Regions from separate parts of the Homo sapiens genome. Here region 2 is linked to region 1. The links are contacts of gene promoters, found by promoter capture Hi-C in blood cells and fetal thymus (Javierre and others, 2016). All regions are on one chromosome and are shown on one strand. Each heading gives the region's core, a stretch centred on a gene start or on the middle of the fragment in contact. The rest is flanking DNA. Distances are from core to core; before and after follow the strand shown. Region 1 holds the start of HNRNPA2B1 (heterogeneous nuclear ribonucleoprotein A2/B1). Region 2 overlaps JAZF1 (JAZF zinc finger 1).

Region 1 (2,700 bases), core at 1-2,500:
AGGCCAGCCGCGAGGCCACCGCCCGACCCTCCACTCCTTCCCGCAGCTCCCGGCGCGGGGTCCGGCGAGAAGGGGAGGGGAGGGGAGCGGAGAACCGGGCCCCCGGGACGCGTGTGGCATCTGAAGCACCACCAGCGAGCGAGAGCTAGAGAGAAGGAAAGCCACCGACTTCACCGCCTCCGAGCTGCTCCGGGTCGCGGGTCTGCAGCGTCTCCGGCCCTCCGCGCCTACAGCTCAAGCCACATCCGAAGGGGGAGGGAGCCGGGAGCTGCGCGCGGGGCCGCCGGGGGGAGGGGTGGCACCGCCCACGCCGGGCGGCCACGAAGGGCGGGGCAGCGGGCGCGCGCCCGGCGGGGGGAGGGGCCGCGCGCCGCGCCCGCTGGGAATTGGGGCCCTAGGGGGAGGGCGGAGGCGCCGACGACCGCGGCACTTACCGTTCGCGGCGTGGCGCCCGGTGGTCCCCAAGGGGAGGGAAGGGGGAGGCGGGGCGAGGACAGTGACCGGAGTCTCCTCAGCGGTGGCTTTTCTGCTTGGCAGCCTCAGCGGCTGGCGCCAAAACCGGACTCCGCCCACTTCCTCGCCCCTGCGGTGCGAGGGTGTGGAATCCTCCAGACGCTGGGGGAGGGGGAGTTGGGAGCTTAAAAACTAGTACCCCTTTGGGACCACTTTCAGCAGCGAACTCTCCTGTACACCAGGGGTCAGTTCCACAGACGCGGGCCAGGGGTGGGTCATTGCGGCGTGAACAATAATTTGACTAGAAGTTGATTCGGGTGTTTCCGGAAGGGGCCGAGTCAATCCGCCGAGTTGGGGCACGGAAAACAAAAAGGGAAGGCTACTAAGATTTTTCTGGCGGGGGTTATCATTGGCGTAACTGCAGGGACCACCTCCCGGGTTGAGGGGGCTGGATCTCCAGGCTGCGGATTAAGCCCCTCCCGTCGGCGTTAATTTCAAACTGCGCGACCGTTTCTCACCTGCCTTGCGCCAAGGCAGGGGGCGGGACCCTATTCCAAGAGGTAGTAACTAGCAGGACTCTAGCCTTCCGCAATTCATTGAGCGCATTTACGGAAGTAACGTCGGGTACTGTCTCTGGCCGCAAGGGTGGGAGGAGTACGCATTTGGCGTAAGGTGGGGCGTAGAGCCTTCCCGCCATTGGCGGCGGATAGGGCGTTTACGCGACGGCCTGACGTAGCGGAAGACGCGTTAGTGGGGGGGAAGGTTCTAGAAAAGCGGCGGCAGCGGCTCTAGCGGCAGTAGCAGCAGCGCCGGGTCCCGTGCGGAGGTGCTCCTCGCAGAGTTGTTTCTCGAGCAGCGGCAGTTCTCACTACAGCGCCAGGACGAGTCCGGTTCGTGTTCGTCCGCGGAGATCTCTCTCATCTCGCTCGGCTGCGGGAAATCGGGCTGAAGCGACTGAGTCCGCGATGGAGGTAACGGGTTTGAAATCAATGAGTTATTGAAAAGGGCATGGCGAGGCCGTTGGCGCCTCAGTGGAAGTCGGCCAGCCGCCTCCGTGGGAGAGAGGCAGGAAATCGGACCAATTCAGTAGCAGTGGGGCTTAAGGTTTATGAACGGGGTCTTGAGCGGAGGCCTGAGCGTACAAACAGCTTCCCCACCCTCAGCCTCCCGGCGCCATTTCCCTTCACTGGGGGTGGGGGATGGGGAGCTTTCACATGGCGGACGCTGCCCCGCTGGGGTGAAAGTGGGGCGCGGAGGCGGGAATTCTTATTCCCTTTCTAAAGCACGCTGCTTCGGGGGCCACGGCGTCTCCTCGGCGAGCGTTTCGGCGGGCAGCAGGTCCTCGTGAGCGAGGCTGCGGAGCTTCCCCTCCCCCTCTCTCCCGGGAACCGGATTTGGCGGCCGCCATTTTCATGGCTCGCCTTCCTCTCAGCGTTTTCCTTATAACTCTTTTATTTTCTTAGTGTGCTTTCTCTATCAAGAAGTAGAAGTGGTTAACTATTTTTTTTTCTTCTCGGGCTGTTTTCATATCGTTTCGAGGTGGATTTGGAGTGTTTTGTGAGCTTGGATCTTTAGAGTCCTGCGCACCTCATTAAAGGCGCTCAGCCTTCCCCTCGATGAAATGGCGCCATTGCGTTCGGAAGCCACACCGAAGAGCGGGGAGGGGGGGTGCTCCGGGTTTGCGGGCCCGGTTTCAGAGAAGATATCACCACCCAGGGCGTCGGGCCGGGTTCAATGCGAGCCGTAGGACAAAGAAACCATTTTATGTTTTTCCTGTCTTTTTTTTCCTTTGAGTAACGGTTTTATCTGGGTCTGCAGTCAGTAAAACGACAGATGAACCGCGGCAAAATAAACATAAATTGGAAGCCATCGGCCACGAGGGGCAGGGACGAAGGTGGTTTTCTGGGCGGGGGAGGGATATTCGCGTCAGAATCCTTTACTGTTCTTAAGGATTCCGTTTAAGTTGTAGAGCTGACTCATTTTAAGTAATGTTGTTACTGAGAAGTTTAACCCTTACGGGACAGATCCATGGACCTTTATAGATGATTACGAGGAAAGTGAAATAACGATTTTGTCCTTAGTTATACTTCGATTAAAACATGGCTTCAGAGGCTCCTTCCTGTAATGCGTATGGATTGATGTGCAAAACTGTTTTGGGCCTGGGCCGCTCTGTATTTGAACTTTGTTACTTTTCTCATTTTGTTTGCAATCTTGGTTGAACATTACATTGATAAGCATAAGGTCTCA
Region 2 (2,700 bases), core at 158-2,657, 2.0 Mb before region 1:
AAGCTTCATTAACAGGGACCCTGAAATCAATTGTTTAAAAGAAGATAAAAGCTGTCTCTGTCACGAATGGAAGTAGACTGTGGTTCAGGGTGGATAGTATGTCTCCTCCACGAAGCTGTCTAAGGATGGGTTCCTTCTGTCTTGTGTCATCTTCCCATCGGGCAGGGGTTGGCAAATTGCTGCCCTTGGGACAGATTTGGCCTGTCTCCTGTTTTTGTACAGCCCGCATACTAAGAATAGCTTTTACATTTTTAAATGGTTGGAAAAAATGTGAAAATTATTTGCAACTCAGATTTCACGTCCATAAATAAAGTTTTATTGGAACACAGTCATACTCCTTATTTTTATACCGTCTGTGACTGCTTTTGTGCTGCAATGGCAGAGTTGAATAATTGTGATAGAGCTGATAGGGCCCACAAAGCCAAAAATATTCACTGTCTGGCTCTTTACAAAGGAACTTTGCCACCTTCTACTCTAGGCTGTGGTCCTGACTCAGTGCTTGAGGCCAGCCTCCTCTCACTTTGTCTGCTTATCAGCCTGTGGGAAGAGGGACTTAGTGGGCACACCTAGCTGTGGGGGTGCTGAGGAGATCAGTCTGCAGCTGGGCAGCCATTTGCCCAGCAGACACTCTGGAGGTTCTGCTATTAAAAGGAAGGAGAGAGGAGATTGAGTTACATTGAGCAGACCACCACAGGGGCTGTGTGCATGCACATGTATGTATGCTTTCAGAATCCACTGTGGTTGGTTGAAGGATATCGAAGGTCATCTTAATGGATATTGAAGACTGTCTTTATTTATACGTAGTATGGAGTCCGGTATAAACAAATATGGGAAATGTAGCATATGATGGAAGAGAAGGTATTTATCTGCCCTTTGATTCATGCATTCATTCAATGACTGTCTCATAAGAATGATTTCCCCCCTTGCTTGGTAGTGTTCTAGTTCTAGGATCTGAATTTAAATTTCTTGGTGACGTACTCTTGCTTATAGAGCAGTGGTCTCCAAGAGTGGTCTCTGGACAAGCAGCAGCAGTATTTTCTGGATTATTGTATTAGATGTGCAGATTCTCAACACTGTGTCCTCTTGCCCCACACCTACGAAATCAGAAACTATGGGGCTGAGACCCAGCAATTTGTGTTTCAACAAATTCCCAGGTAATTTCAATACACTCTTGGGAACCTCTGCTGTAGAAGATGTAGCGTTAATTCATAACTATAATGAGCGAATGGTCTTCTCTCTTCACTGAATGAACATTTTGTGCTTTCTGGGGAATCAACAAACATTTTCTCCACTTACCTAAACTTCTTATCAATAGTCTCTTGTACTCAGAAAATGTACACAAGTCAAAATAGACAAATCATATTTTGGCTCCACATTTATTCTAGCAGACAGTGGCAGACTCTGCCAAAGCCACGAAGTGACTCCCCATGCAATTGGCCAGGTGACCACCACCACCACACAGAGCAATCTCAGTCCTTGACTGGTTCCTCTGTGTGAAAAGGGGCCTCTACAGCCTTGACCCAGTGACTTTCAGATTCTGAGGAAAACAGACGCTTGATGCCTGTCCAAAGTAAACAGAGCCAAGAGAACCTTTCACAAGCCTGGTTAAGGATCGATGGTTCCACCCAAATGATTTAGATGATTTGGTGTTTAAGTATGTTGTTGCATAACTCTTGGCAGCCAGAGATACCAGTGTGCTGGAGTGAGTGGCAATTTGGATTGAATGAATAAGGTATCTATCAAGGGTGTATGTATATGTACATACCAGCTACTGTGATTTGGACATTACCTACATTAGCTTATGTAACCTCATAGACACCTTATCAGGTAGGTACCCTTATACCCTTAAGATAATTTTCCAGATCAAAAAGCAGAGGCATTGTGAGGTTAATTTGCACAAGATCATCTTCCCAGGAAGAAGCAGGGTTAGAATTTGGACCCAGGTATTTGGTTCCTATACTTCCCATGTGCGCGTGCACACACACACAGACACACACATACATTCTGTGCTGTCACAGCCTAGATGTGGTTGTTTCTCTTGGTCTCTTCTGCATGGGTCATTTCTTGTATGATAATTCTGAATTTAGGTGGAGGTTGTAGTTGCTGAATGGGCATGGGTGGCCAGGCCCTCCATACTGTGTTCAGTACCTTTGATGATTAACTCTGAAAGGGAAGAAAGGATTACTTAGTGCAGGCCAGAGAGCTGTAAAAGGTTCCTAAATTACTCATTTCCCCTCTGAATTTCTCCTCTTGCCTCGAAAACTAAAACACACTTTATAGGGGAAGAATGAAGACCGTATAACTCTGTGGCAGCACAGTTTGGTAATTAATGGACTTGTGCCTCTATCAGAAGAGTGATGTATTATTCCAGAGCCCTGTAGAATGAGTTAAACTGAGAGTGAATTATTTGGTTTGACTGATGTGTACAGTAACTGAAGATAGTTTATTAGTGGGCCAGGTTTTAATCTTCTCTCAAAATGAGTTCTCCTCATATTCTGCACAACTGCCCAGTCTCTTTCATGCCCTGAAATTGAGTAAAAGGAGAAGGTGCTAAAATGGTTGAAACAAGAAGTGAAACCTTCTGTTTCATCATATGTTCCAGAAAATATACAGTGTGTTTTTACTGCAGCCTCCTTTCCATCCCCCCTCCCAATCATTTTCATTAGTGACTGATGTGATTGCAGAGTGGTTTGGTGGGGA

What was found. The method cuts DNA at HindIII sites, captures the fragments that hold promoters and counts their contacts. A CHiCAGO score of 5 or more calls a contact.
Region 2: a fragment that was not itself captured here is called in contact with the fragment with the promoter of HNRNPA2B1 in region 1 in 1 of 17 cell types (naive B cells); the score reaches 5.5 in naive B cells.

The regions. Positions count from the first base shown.
Region 1 is chr7:26,199,296-26,201,995 of GRCh38, reverse strand. It overlaps HNRNPA2B1 (heterogeneous nuclear ribonucleoprotein A2/B1), which reads left to right and starts at 1,250. Exons shown (of 11, transcript NM_002137.4): 1 at 1,250-1,424. The coding sequence starts at 1,419. CBX3 (chromobox 3) reads right to left here and starts at 251. Exons shown (of 6, transcript NM_016587.4): 1 at 170-251. RefSeq lists a silencer at 1-366 and enhancers at 1,307-1,696, 862-1,834, 1,807-1,926, 1,835-2,700. The HindIII fragment of the contact is 8,290 bases long and covers 1-2,700 here.
Region 2 is chr7:28,155,068-28,157,767 of GRCh38, reverse strand. The region is part of intron 1 of JAZF1 (JAZF zinc finger 1); the gene reads left to right. Among named protein-coding and RNA genes, the nearest start is that of JAZF1-AS1, 24 kb to the left of the region's middle. The HindIII fragment of the contact is 2,804 bases long and covers 6-2,700 here.